Linked DNA regions of Homo sapiens: all the other regions are linked to region 5. The links are contacts of gene promoters, found by promoter capture Hi-C in human tissues and cell types (Jung and others, 2019). All regions are on one chromosome and are shown on one strand. The core of a region is centred on a gene start or on the middle of the fragment in contact, and the rest is flanking DNA. Distances in the headings are between cores, read along the strand shown.

Region 1 (2,700 bases), core at 102-2,601, 210 kb after region 5:
GCTATGGAAAACTGAAAGGTCAGAGGGTGGAGGTCCTCTCCCTCCTGGACATGGAAACCTCCCCCTGCCTGGCACTTCGGCTGGTCAGGAACAGTGGCTGCTCATGGAGCTGCCCTCCCACCTTCAGACCCTCCTCCTCCCCCGCAGGGGTGGGCTGGGGCCCTCCCTCCCTCTGTACTTGATCCATGACTTGTGAGTTCTGAGTCCTCAGGGCCGAGACTTGAGTCAGAACCTTCTGGAGCAGTACGCATTTCCCCTCTGCACCTGGTGAGGACACCAGGCTCCTCGCTTCCTCCCCAGATCTCTGAGTGCTCACCCGACCCCCCAACCCTGGCGGGACCTTCCAGGGCTGGCAAGCATCGAGCCTGACCACGTTGCCTCTTGGGTGCCAGCACGCCCACATCAAAGGTGTCCCCTCTTCCCAGAGGCCCTGAGCAACATCGGGCGACGCTGTCAGCAGACATTAGCAGCAGAGCTGCACCACGCATCAACTTTTAAGTATGCGCACACACGTACGCCAGCCAATAACATTAAGTGTCATTTTAAAAAATGGGTTAAATAAGCAGCATTGCTGAGGATGGCCGTGCAGGGCTGATTATCCCCTATTTGCACGTTCTGGCGGTGGGAAGGCTAGAAGTCTAATGACTGAATTATCGCCCTAATGCCTCTCGCTGGCTGGGAATAATCCCGGGGCAACAGCTGCCGCGGGGTTTTTGGCTGGTTTCCTCTAATTGCATCCAGATTAAGGGAGTTGTGGAGGGGCGGGGCTTCTCCATCCCCCGCGGAGCAGCGTCTCCTCCGCCAAGCCCTGAACACCCAGCTCATGGCTTCCGAGGTCCTGGCTGGTCCGAGAGGTGCAGACCTCACTGGGGTCCGGGCCAGCCCATGGGGAGCGTGAGGTGCGAGCAGTGCACGGTGGGGGTGGCACTTGGTGCAGAGATGCAGCTGATTGGTCCGGGTCAGGTCTTGGGGAGCAGCAGGGGTGAGAAGCTGTAGGGCCAGGAGACTCAGAAGGAATGCCTTCTACTAGGACCTTCCCAAGTGAGGGGAGCCCTGGACCTGTCTATCCTCTTCCTCCCTCCCAAACACAGCGGTTCAAAGGCACGAGGTATCTAGTGAAATGCTAGGACCAGGGACGCTATTCCCCTGGAGCAGGCGGGTGGGGAAGGAGTGCTCCAAAGCAGGCATTATTAGGACACAGACTCTCCAGAGTCCCAGTTGTTTAGCCCTCCAAATTCTCAGCCTACTGCCACCCGACTGTGCAGAGCGGACAATAAAGTGGCAGGCCTGTCCCCCACCCCTTAATGCTGAGCCCAGCCACGTGACTTGCTGTGGCCAAGGGGAGAGCTGCAGGTGTGGTGTCCACCAAGGCTTGGAAAGGCACTTGCTGTCTCTCCCTCCGTGCCTTTGGCTGTGCCATGGCTGGCCTGCAGGAGGGATGCAAGAGACCACAGAGCAGGGCCAGGTCCGACCTCTGCACCATGAGCATCCCCTGGGACTTAACAACCCACTGGCCCTAAACAAACAAGCCCAGCCTAGACCAGAAGAATCACCCTGCCCAGACTGCTGACTCCTGCCCTAGATCAGTGCTGACTGTTGCAGGCCACCGAGTGTTGGCGGATTTGTTACACAGTATTGCTGTGGCAATGGATATAACTGGTTTCTAGCGGAGGGTCAGGGCAGAAGCTCCAGCCACCTCCCTAGCCCAGAAAGGCAACCCTCTCTTCCCAGAAGCAACATGGATGAGAAGCCCACCCCATTCCCACCACAGGATCCCCCACTGCTAGACAGCAATGGTCGGTACCCCAGGATCTGGGCACTGATGGGGCTCCAGGACGGTCTCCTCAAAAGGCTCTTAGGCAGACAGACCTGGGAACTTGGAAGTACCTGCTGGACGACCTGGGTTCATGGAGAAAAGAGAAGCCGAGAAGGTGGAGGAGGCCGGTAAGTGGTGACCTCCGCTTTCCTGCTGAGGAACACTGCTTTGAAGTGGCATGGCCCAGCAGTGCCCACCCTCCAGGGAGAAAAGCTTTGAGTGGGAAGAAGCCTTCTATCCTGGTCCCCATGATGGTTCTCAGCACATCAAGGGTTTTTCTCCCCAGAAGGACGCGATGGAGGATTTCAGGAGGGATTTGGTCTCCTCGCTCAAGGAGTGGCTTTCTGTGCAAATGGCTCGACACTTCTAAGCTGGCTGGGAGTTCTCACAGCATAGATCGCACACCCTTTTCTGTCCATCTCTAAATCCCAGAAGGAGCAACTGATACACAATCTTTTGGAAGAGGGAGAGTCTGTTGGGAAGACCTCATTCCCACATAGAAGGCAGAGAGCCCTGAGTGCTGGCTCCTTCACTGTGGTCGCTCTCACGTCCGACCACCTGAGAAGCTGACTTACATATCTGAGTTCACAGGTCCTGAAGGGAAGTGGAAGAGTCTAACTATTTCCAGGTGTCCTTGTCTTGGTTGGTCAGCTAATACACTACCACGTCCCTGGGACAAAGCAGATCATTGTCAGAGGATCTTGCAAACACAAACACGCACGCACGTGTGCATGCATGCATGCACGCAGGGACACACGCACACATCGACCCATTCAAGCCCCAGCTGGTTGCTGTATTTGGTGGAGTTGACCTTAAACAACGCCAAGGAACCTCACGTAGAAGACCCCCAGCAAAGAAAAAGGCATCAGATGCTTCTCCAACAG
Region 2 (2,757 bases), core at 119-2,618, 140 kb after region 5:
GGATGCTGCTTGCAGGGAGCCGTTCTTGAACAGGCCTGGGTGGAATCTCAGATTCATATTTCTAAAACCTCCTCAGATTTGGGGACTTCTATGTGAAGTCTTTGCCGAAGTCCACACCCTGGAAGATGCAGGGAGGATGAAAACGTGCCCATCTGCCTCTGGCTTTTGATTCCAGCCCCACCACAGCACAGCTGCCTTCGAAAACACAGGGCAGGAGCTTTCTGCAGCAGTGGCTGGTGGGACAGACAGATGGACGGACACACACACACAGGCAGCAGAACTGGAGGTGAGGGCAGTCAGGAGGCAGTTATGGTTTGGTTCGGTTTCTTTCTTTTCTTTTTTTAAACACCAGCTTGAAAGCTTGAACTAGATTTTATTTATTTATTTATTTGAGACAATCTTGCTGTGTCACTCAGGCTGTAGTGCAGTGGCATGATCACGGCTCACTGCAGGCTTGACCTCCCAGGCTCAAGCGATTCTCCCACCTCAGCCTCCCGAGTAGCTGGGACCACAGGCATATGCCACCATACCCAGCTAATCCCTCCCCTCCCCTCTCCTCCCTTCCCCTCCCCTCCTGTCCCCTCCCCTCTCGTCTCTTTGTCTCCCTCCCCTCCCCTGCTTTCCCCTCCCCTCCCTCCCCTCCCCTGCTTTCCCCTCCTTTCCCATCCCCTTCCCTCTCCTCTCTTCTCTCTTTTCGAGACTGGGTCTCACTTTGTTGCTTCGGCTGGTGTCAAACTCTTGGGCTCAAGCAATCTGCTCACCTTGGCCTCCCAAAGTGCTGAGTAGGTTTTGTTTATTTTTTAAATTAACATTTTAATGTTGAGATAATTGTTTATTTACATGTTGTTGTTGTAAGAAATAATACAGAAGGATCTATGTCCCCTACCCAGAGTCCCACCCATGGTGGTGTCTTGTAAGACTAGAGTACAATGTTACAACCAAGACGTGGATATTGATCCGGTGAACCCATCTTACTGACGTTTCCCTTCTGCTTGTACCCATTTGTGTGTATTTCCTTTCTGTGACCTGTGTAGCTTCCTGTATCCACCACCGCAGTCACAACGCTGAACGCTGCGGCACCCCAAGGACGCCCTGGATCACTCTTTTGCAACTGGACCGACCTCCTTCCTCTTCCTAATCTGCCTCCAAGTCTCCAAGTCTGTTATTTCAAGAATCTTATGTGAACGGAATCATACACCTTGTAACCTTCTGGGAGTGGCTTTTTCCCTCAAAATCATTCCCTGGAGATTCCTGCAAGGTCTTGTGTGGCCCAGTCCGGGGTTCCTTTTCCCGATCCGTGACGTGGAGGCACGACAGCATGTTTAGCATTCGCCCACTGAAGGTCAACCAGGTGTTTCTGGTTTTTGGCTATTATGCATAAGCTGCTATGAACACTTGTATGCAGCTTCTTTTATTTTTTATTTTTATTTTTTAGAGACAGGGTCTTGCTCTGTCGCCCAGGCTGGAGTGTAGTGGCACAATCACAGCTCACTGTAGCCTCAAACTCCCAGGCTCAAGTGATCCTCCCCACTCAGCCTTCTGAGTAGCTGGGACTACAAGTGTGCACCACCACGCCCTGCTAATTTTTAAAGTTTTTTTATAGAGACAGGGTCTTGCTATGTTGCCTGGGCTGATCGCAAACTCCTGACTGAGTAATCCTCCCGCCTCGGCCTCCCAGGGTGTTGGGACTATAGGCGTAATCTACCACGCCCAGCCTTGTGTATAGGTTTTGATGTGAACAAAAGCTTCCATTTCTCTGGGATAAATGGCCAAGAGCACAGTTGCTGGGTCTTATGGCAATTGTGTGTTTAGTTTTATAAGAAACTGCCAAATTGTTTTCCAGAGGGGCTGCACCATGTGACAGGACCAGTAGCAGTTTCTTTTTCTTGTTTTTTTCTTTTTTTTTTTTTTCGAGACGGAGTTTTGCTCTGTCGCCGAGGCTGGAGTGCAATGGCACGATCTTGGCTCACTGCAACTTGTACCTCCTCAGTTCAAGCAACACTCCTGCCTCAGCCTCCCGAGTAGCTGGGATTATAGACACCCGCCATCATGCCCAGCTAATTTTTGTAGAGATAGGGTTTCACCATGTTGGCCAGGCTGGTTCCGAACTCCTGACCTCAGGTGATCCACCCGCCTTGGCCTCCCAGAGTGCTGGGATTACAGGCGTGAGCCACCACGCCTGGCCCCCGGTAGCATTTTCTGAGTGATCCTATTTCTGTGCATCCCCACCAGCATTTGGCGTTGCCACTATTTTTAATTTCTGATAGGTGTTGATGGTATCTCACTGTGGTTCTAATTTGCATTCCCCCCATGGCTCATGGTGTTGGACAGCTTTTCATGTGCTCACTTGCCATCTGTATATTCTCTTTGGTGAAATGTCACCATTGAATTTGAAGCGAGTTTCTTGTAAACAGTGTATGGTTAGGTTGTTTTTCAAAAAATAGACTGCCAATCTCTTGCTTTTTACTTGGTGTATTTCATTTACCTTTAAAGAAAATTATCAATATGTTAGGACTTAGGTCTGCCATTTAAGGATTTGTTTTCTCTGTGTATGTTTTCTTGCTTTTCTGTGGATTCCTTGAACATTAGGATTGAGGTTCATCTTGGTTGATTTATAGTCATCTAGAGGGCGTTTCTTTGTATCACTTCCCTAGTGGTCGCTCTGGTTATTACAAGGTACACGGGTAGCATTTTACCACCTGCAGTGAATGTGGAAGCCTTACTTCCATGTAGGTTCTTTAACCTGTCCCCCTTTTA
Region 3 (2,700 bases), core at 29-2,528, 250 kb after region 5:
CGAGGCAGAGACCACCTTCCCTGACGCCTCATCCCTCCACCTGGCCCCTTCCCAGCATCTGCAACCCACTGGTGTGTCTTGGTCCCCCAGGCAAGGGTGATGTCTCAGCCATCTCTGCAACCCTTGCCCCACAGGGCCTGGCACGCAGCAGGATGGGGGTGACGGAGGAGAGAGAGCTCTCCGCACCTTCCTTCCCCCACCTGTGAGACGGCGATGAGTTGGCTGGACGCTACGATCTCTAGGAACCCCATTAGGCTCTAAAATCCTGGCAGTTTCTAAAATGCACAGTAAGCTAACTGTTCCCAGCAAAACTGAAGCACGTCTGGCATAATTAGCATCACACACACATGTGCACACGGCGGTACTGGACTCATCCAGCCGAGAGGCTGGACTCTGCCAGCTTCCCGCTGACCACAGAGGCAGCCAGACCCAGCTCTGGAGTCTGCTCGCAGAGCCCAGCCGGCTGTGCACGGGAGGGCGATTGATGCGGCTGCCAGTTCGAAGAGGCAGAGCAATAAAGCCTCGGCGACTGCGGTGCCTTCTGCTGCCGGGGTGGGACCCCTAAGCTTTTCAGAGGCCTGGATGCTGAGGGGGGCCCACGGGAAGCTGGCTCTATTAGGCTCAAGCTGCCATTTCTGACATAAGTGGCAATGTTAAGTGATGGGCGCACAGCCGGCCGGATTCTGCCATCCCAGGCCTAGAACCTGCCCCATGGTCACGGTCGAGCTCGGGAGCGCCGACATCCCGCATGCACCGAGACAGCCTGGCTTTTCCAGCCAGAGGGACTGGGAGCAGCAAGGCCGGAAAATACAGGGCCAAGCGGGGCGGGGATGAATCGCAGCTCCTCGCGGCATGGGCGGCACACTCCCAGAGCCAGAGCTGCTGGGAACTGGGAAGGCAGGGTCTCCGCTCCGGCGATTAACTCTGCCGATCTGCAACATCACGGCTAATTAGGGAAGGTGTAAATCACTGGGAGGAAGCGGGCAGGCACATCCTTCAGGTTGATTACCAGCACGGTTTAGGAAAAGATAACCAGGCCCGGCCTTTCTTCTGTTCCTTTGCCAGCCGTGGGGGCGGGGTGGGGGCCGTGGCGGGCGGGCAACAATCCGCGGCAGGTAGGAGGAGAGAATGTACCAGGCCTTTGAGTGCTGTTTCTGTTTTAATTTTTTCTTAGTCATATGGAGTGACCTTGTGGATTTCCCAGGGAAATTAAGAAAAATTCCACTGAACAGATCTCACAGCTGTTACGAGTTTCTGAGCTTCCGTGGGTCCCGTGCATTTACGACTGTGACGACTTAGACTCAGGACGTGCACGTGATGCCGTACTGGGCTTTTTCCATTCAGCGTGATTACACGGTGTTATTCATTAAGGGCTGGAGACTCTGATGGCAGGAATCATTTGTTTTTCTTTTTCCCTTAAGGCATTTGCAAATATGCTTGGAGGCAAAGGGACGCTGGGTACATCTAATAAATAAAGCAAAATAATTAATAGCTCAAGCAGTCTAGAGACCACTCCCAGTTGCTCCTGAACCAGGCTTTTGAGAGCCAATCGTTCTGTTTTCATTCCCTCTCGACTTCGTCCTTGAAATACACATTACTGGGAAGAAAACAGCCAAGAGATTTTTCTGAACCCAAAAAGAATGTTTATTTTTTTTCCCCTAGATTTTATAGGAGCTTAACGTGGGCAAACCAATGAGATGATTCTAAACCAAAGCGCCCTCGTGGGCTCCACGCTCTCAGCCTGTCCATCAGCAGCACACCTGGGAGATTCTGCCCAACCTAGGGAAAGGAGGAGCCATAGGAGCTGGGCAGGGAAGGCCAGAGCACACACGCTCCGGGGACGCACACCCACGCCTAGAGCACACACGCTCCGGGGATGCACACCCACGCCCAGAGCACACGCGCTCCGGGGACGCACACCCACGCCCAGAGCACACACGCTCCAGGGATGCACACCCACGCCCTGGACCCCAGCAGAGGGATCAAGGGCTCAGGCATCCCCAGTGCCGCCAATCACGTGGCCCTCTCGAGGTGAAGCTGCGACACTGTGTGGAAACCCAGGGGAGATGGGAGAGGCCTGAAGCGGGAGGCGGGAGGACCGCATAGCTGCAAATGCATCTGGGCGTGAAGACGTCCCTGTGTCATCTCTGCAGGACCAAACAGTCAATTAGTATCCAAATACTTTTAGGGGACAGAAAGACGCTCACGGTTCCTGTCGCAGGTCCAGGTTATTCGGTGCCATAAAAAGGCACACGTCGACCTTCACTGTTTCCTGCAAACACAGCTGGGACATCAGCCCGGAAAGGAATGTAACCTGTCAGGCCGCAAATCCCACGGTTCTCACTAGGAGCAGGAAAGGACCCTGGTCTCCCTTCACATCCACCAAAAGCTCACCCTGACTAGAGAACCAAGCAGAGACTGAGGCCAGAGAATAACCAAGTAGCAAGGAGGGGAGGGGTCTTCACAGACAGAGGCCTTGCTATGGGTGGGCTCTGGCTTCCAGGTGGTGGGCTCTGCGGGCCAGAGCTTGGGGCGCAGGAGGCCAAGGTCCAGGTCCCAGACACATCCATTATGGCCAAACACAAGAAGCCCTCAGGCCTGCCCAACACGGCTGTGGGCACCGGTGCCTCCCCAGACCCTCTGGGCAGCCCATCCTTGCACCTGGAGGAGCAGCTCACCGTGCCGTGGAGGGTGGCCGCG
Region 4 (2,700 bases), core at 93-2,592, 230 kb after region 5:
ATAAGTGAAAAAAAAAATTAATCTTCATTAAAATGAAAACCTTCTACTCTTTAAGAGATATTGTTAAGAAAATAAAAAGATAAGCCACAGACTGGGAAAAAGATATTTGCCAAATGCTTATATGATAAAGGGCTTATCATATAAGTCAGTAATATGCTTTAAATCATCATTCTATACAGAATATAGAAAAGGTCCTCAAAACAGTAATAAGAAAACACAATCCAAACATGGGCAAAAGATTTGAAAAGACATTTCACCAAAGAGGATATTCAGATGGCCAAGAAGCCTATGAAAAGGTGCTCGACAGCATTCATTATTAGAGAAATGCAAATAGAAAGAAACCTCAATGCAATCTAAAGGAACATGATGTGATCCACTACACATCTATTGGAATGACTAAAAAACAAATGAATGAGGCCACGAGCAAGGCAGTTCAAGCTTGTAATCCCAGCATTTTGGGAAGCTGAGGCGGGTGGGTCACCTGAGCTCAGGAGTTCAAGACTAGCCTGGGCAACATGGCGAAATCCCGTTTCTGCTAAAAATACAAAAAATTAGTAGGCATCGCAGTGCACCTCTGTTATCCCAGCTACTCCAGAGGCTGAGGCAGGAGAATCACTTGAACCCTGGAGGCGAGGTTGCAGTGAGCCAACATCATGCCACTGCACTTCAGCCCGAGCGACAGAGTGAGACTCTGTCTCAAAAAAACCCAAAAAACAAAAACCCAAAAAAAAAAAAAAAAAAAAAAAAAAAAAACGAAGGAATGAAACTGACACTGTGAGTGCTGGCCAGGAGGCGAGCAACAGAACTCTCCTACAATGTGACGGGAAGTCAAATGACAGAACCACTCTGGAGAACTGTTTGGCAGTGTCTTATAAAGTCACACACACCCCTACCATATGACTCAGCAATGCCCCCTAGGTATTTACCCAAAATACATGGAAAATGTTCACACGAAATCTGTGTGTGAATGTTTATAGCAGTTTTATTCATCATTGCAGAAAACAGGAAATGACACAAACGTCTTTCAGCTGGTGAATGGCTAAACAAACAATGGTACATCTTAACAAGGGAATACATACGCCTCAGCAATAAAAAGGAGCAAACTGCTGATATGCATGACGATATGGAAGCATCTCAGTTGTATTATGTTAAGTGAAAGAAGCCAGACACAAAAGGCTACATGAGAAGATACTCAGCATCCTCTGTAGTCAGGAAAATGCAAATTAAAACCACAATGAGATACTCCTACTCACCTATTAGAATGGCTACAGTGGACAAGACTGATCATAGCAAGTGTTGCTGAGGACATGGAGGAACTGGAACTCTCACGGACTGCTGGTGGGAATGCAACACGGCAAACCACTTTAGGAAAGCAGTTCAGTAATTTCTTAAAAATTAAACACATGCCTGTTTCCAGTTATTCCATTCCCAAGTATTTACCAAGAGAAATAAAAACATATGTCCACGTGCAAAGACTTGCACATAAATGTGTGTAACAGCTTTATCTAAAATAGCTAAGAACTGGCCAGGCACAGTGGCTCACGCCTATAATCCCAGCACTTTGGGAGGCCGAGGCTGGTGGATCACCTGAGGTCAGGAGTTTGAGACCAGTGTGACCAACATGGTGAAACACTGTATCTACCAAAAATACAAAAAATCAGCCAGACGTGGTGGCGGGCGCCTATAATCCCAGCTACTCGGGAGGCTCAGGCAGGAGACTTGCTTGAACCCTGGAGGCAGAGGTTGCAGTGAGCCAAGATCACGAGACTGCGCTCCAGCCTAGGCAAGAAGAGCAAAACTCCATCTCAAAAAAATAAAAATAAAAATAATAAAATAAAATAGATAAGAACTGAAAACAACCCAGGGTTTATCAACAGCCAATGCAGTAATGAATCGTGGTCTGTACATACCATGGCATACTACTCAGCTGTAACACGCAGTAGCATGGACGCATGACAAAATTATTATGCTGATTGAAAGAAGCAGGACAAAAAACAAGCACATACTGCATGATCCCATTTACATAAAATTCTAGAAAAGGCAAACAAATCTAGAGTGATGCAAAGCAGATGCAACTTTTTTCCTTTTTCCAATTATTTTATTGTGTTAAAAAATACTTATCATCAAATTTACCATCTCAACCTATTTTTTTTTTTTTTTTTTTTTTTTTTTTGAGACAGAGTCATCTCACTCTGTTGGCCAGGCTACAGTGCAGTGGCAAGATCTTGGCTCACTGCAACCTCCACCTCCCGGACTCAAGCAATTCTCCTGCCTCAGCCTCCCAAGTATCTGGGATTACAGGTACCCGCCACCACGCCTGGCTAATTTTTGTATTTTTAGTAGAGATGGGGTTTCACCATGTTGGCCAGCTGGCCTCAAACTCCTGACCTCAGGTGATCCGCCCACCTTGCCTCCCAAAGTGCTGGGATTACAGGTGTGACCCACCACACCCGGCCCCATCTCAACCATTTTTAAATGTACAGTTCAGGTATTAAATATATTTCTAATATTGTACAATGATCATCACCTTCCATTTCCAGAACTCTTTTCATCTTGTAAAACAAAAGCTCTATACCTATTAAACAATAGCTTCCAGGCCAGGCGCGGTGGCTCATGCCTGTAATTCCAGCACTTTGGGAGGCTGAGGTGGGCAGGTCACTTGAGGTCAGGAGTTTGTGACCAGCCTGACCAACATGATGA
Region 5 (2,700 bases), core at 55-2,554:
CCTCCAGGATCCGCCTCAAACCCAGCCCCATCCCACAGCCACCACCCTGGTCCGGGCCACCAATAGCTCTTGCTCAGACACAGGCAGTCACCTCTCCAGGGAGCACCCAGTGTCCATTCTGCCCTCGTTCTGGTCTATCCTTCACCCACAAATGGAGAGTATATTTTAGCATTAGATCAGTTCATGTCACTCTCTTGCTTAAAACCCCCGCCTGGCTTCCACTGCCTGGCATGAGAATCACCGCCACCTGCCCTACGGGACTGGCCCTGCCACCCCTGCCACCTGCCCCATGCCCGCTCCCCTAGCTCATGGTCCCCCAGAGTCACTGGCCTCCACCATCCTCTCAGCGAAACCCCACCAGCCACCACTGCGTGCCGCCCACCCACCCCGCCAGCCTCTCCATCACGTCTTCCTGCCTTCCCTTCTTTTGGGAAACTCTTTTTTTCTTGTTTGTTCATTTTATCTTCTGTGTCCCCAACTCGAATGGAGGCCACGAGGAACATTGTCTGTCTCATTCACTTCTGTGTCCCCAGAACCTAGAACCATGCCTGGCACACAGAACGTGCTTAATAGGAACTGAGACAGAGACATACAGGGAAGGAAAGAGGGAGAGAGACAGAGAAAGAGAGAGAAAATAAGAGAAGGGGAAGGAGAGATGGGGGAGAGGGAGGGAGAACCGCACACTGAATCCAGGGGTTCCTCTCCCACCCTTCATGTGCCTATGGTAACAAGGGAGTCCCCCTCTTCTGACCCCTTGTTGTCATCAAGCAAGAACGTCCGAGCCCCAGGCACCCTCTGAAATTCCCAAGAAGGAAGCATCCCAAGAAGGAAGCATCCCAAGAAGGAAGGCCCACAGGACGCTGGTCTGGAGCCATCCGGTTCCCGGTCTGCTCACCACGCTCAAGGAGCCCCTTAACAGGACCAGGAGGAGAACAGGCACCCAGCCTGGGGTTCCCCCCGGACAAGGCCATGCTGTGACCCAGGCTTGGTCCTGGCCCTGACCATGGGAAGCCCACCCCACAGGCCCTCACCCAGGCAGGCCTGAGGCCCATGCACCACTAAAGGCCTGGAGAGGGGGTCCCACCCCAGCCTCACCTGGGTCCCCTGGGGTCAGGGTGAGCTGGGACAGAGGGACCACCTGTTGCTATGGGAGAGGGAGAGGGCACGACTTTCCCAGTGGAATGGGCTCCTGCTGTGCTCTGAGCCCTGGGTCACTGTCCCCACTCTGGGGAGGGAGGGGAGGAGCCTGGAGCACCAAGGGCGCGGCTGGCAATAAAGGCAGATGCTCAAGTTGATGCCACCCCACGCACGTGAGGCTGGGACCAGGGGTGGCACTGACACGGCTGGGGAGCCCACTCCCGAGGTTCGACCCGGGGATGTGCACAGCCACATTCCAAAGGCGCACGGGATGAGATCAGCCCGGGTGACCCTGGGACTTTGTCCTCCTCGGCAGGAGCCAGCCCTGTGCACCCTGTGTGCCTGTCCATCTGGAAGGCCCAGCATGAGAGGCCCGGCCGTCCTCCTCACTGTGGCTCTGGCCACGCTCCTGGCTCCCGGGGCCGGAGCACCGGTACAAAGTCAGGGCTCCCAGAACAAGCTGCTCCTGGTGTCCTTCGACGGCTTCCGCTGGAACTACGACCAGGACGTGGACACCCCCAACCTGGACGCCATGGCCCGAGACGGGGTGAAGGCACGCTACATGACCCCCGCCTTTGTCACCATGACCAGCCCCTGCCACTTCACCCTGGTCACCGGTGAGTACTGCCCTGTGACGGGGCCTGGGGGTGGGAGGGCCTGAGAAACCAGATGGCACAGAGCCGTGTCGTGCAGGATAAAGGGGAGAGGTCCTTGCTCCAGGCACAGGACAGAGCCAAGGGGACCATTAGGAATCCTCACCGTTGGTAGCAACAGATCCGGGACAAAGAAAAATGACCAGGGGGGTCCTTAAACCCGTGGCCACAGCCAGGGCAGCAACCCCAGAAGGCTTCAGGAGGAGGGGAGTGTGGCGGGCTCCCCGCTGGCTCCCATGGCTCCCCTCCCCTGCCCGCCCCTCCAGCTGGCTGTGTCAGCCTCTCCCTCTCCCTTCCATCCTTTCCATTTTCCACCCAACACCTCCCTGACAGATCTGCCCAGGCTGTAGACAATACAGACATAGGTTTTTAAAAAGCCAAATATGGGGCCAGGCTCAGTGGCCCACGCCTGTAATCCCAGCACTTTGAGAGGCTGAGGCGGGCGGATCACTGGAGGTCAGGAGTTCGAGACCTGCCTGGCCAACATGGCGAAACCCCATCTCTACTAAAAATACAAACATTAGCCAGGCATGATGGTGCATGCTTGTAATCCCAGCTACTTGGGAGGCTGAGACAGGAGAATTGCATGAACCCAGGAGGTGGAAGTTGCAGTGAGCTGAGATCGCACCACTGCACTCCAGCCTGGGTGACAAAGCAAGACTGCATATAATATATATATACATATATATATACATATATATATGTATATATATATATATATACACACACATATATATATATATGAGGCCAAGGCAGGAGGATTGCTGGAGTCCAGGAGGTAGAGGCTGCAGTGAGCTGCAATCACACCACTGCACTCCAGCCTGGGTGACAGAGCAAGACCCTGTGTCAAAAAAACAAACAATAATAAAATAATAAAAAGCCAAGTACCACAAAAAAGGTGTTAGAGAAT

Evidence for each region. Contacts are between HindIII fragments. The study calls those that stand out against the background at their distance.
Region 1: a contact is called between a fragment that was not itself captured here and the fragment with the promoter of ENPP7 in region 5, in 2 of the 25 tissues and cell types used here (lymphoblastoid cells and stomach).
Region 2: a fragment that was not itself captured here is called in contact with the fragment with the promoter of ENPP7 in region 5 in 2 of the 25 tissues and cell types used here (psoas muscle and spleen).
Region 3: a contact is called between a fragment that was not itself captured here and the fragment with the promoter of ENPP7 in region 5, in 3 of the 25 tissues and cell types used here (adrenal gland, dorsolateral prefrontal cortex and spleen).
Region 4: a contact is called between a fragment that was not itself captured here and the fragment with the promoter of ENPP7 in region 5, in 1 of the 25 tissues and cell types used here (H1 embryonic stem cells).

What each region holds. Positions count from the first base shown.
Region 1 is chr17:79,937,432-79,940,131 of GRCh38, forward strand. It overlaps TBC1D16 (TBC1 domain family member 16), which reads right to left. Exons shown (of 12, transcript NM_019020.4): 12 at 1-2,700. Among named protein-coding and RNA genes, the nearest start is that of LINC01979, 12 kb to the left of the region's middle. The HindIII fragment of the contact is 9,876 bases long and covers 1-2,700 here.
Region 2 is chr17:79,871,903-79,874,659 of GRCh38, forward strand. No RefSeq gene overlaps it. Among named protein-coding and RNA genes, the nearest start is that of CBX4, 34 kb to the left of the region's middle. The HindIII fragment of the contact is 6,412 bases long and covers 1-2,757 here.
Region 3 is chr17:79,977,382-79,980,081 of GRCh38, forward strand. The region is part of intron 3 of TBC1D16 (TBC1 domain family member 16); the gene reads right to left. It overlaps LOC124904073 (a long non-coding RNA gene), which reads right to left. Exons shown (of 2, transcript XR_007065930.1): 1 at 2,679-2,700; 2 at 1,621-2,147. Among named protein-coding and RNA genes, the nearest start is that of LINC01979, 52 kb to the left of the region's middle. RefSeq lists a silencer at 814-993. The HindIII fragment of the contact is 5,649 bases long and covers 1-2,700 here.
Region 4 is chr17:79,960,057-79,962,756 of GRCh38, forward strand. All of the region lies in intron 3 of TBC1D16 (TBC1 domain family member 16), which reads right to left. Among named protein-coding and RNA genes, the nearest start is that of LINC01979, 35 kb to the left of the region's middle. The HindIII fragment of the contact is 5,656 bases long and covers 1-2,700 here.
Region 5 is chr17:79,729,639-79,732,338 of GRCh38, forward strand. ENPP7 (ectonucleotide pyrophosphatase/phosphodiesterase 7) reads left to right here and starts at 1,305. Exons shown (of 6, transcript NM_178543.5): 1 at 1,305-1,754. The coding sequence starts at 1,502. RefSeq lists an enhancer at 1-104. The HindIII fragment of the contact is 31,927 bases long and covers 1-2,700 here.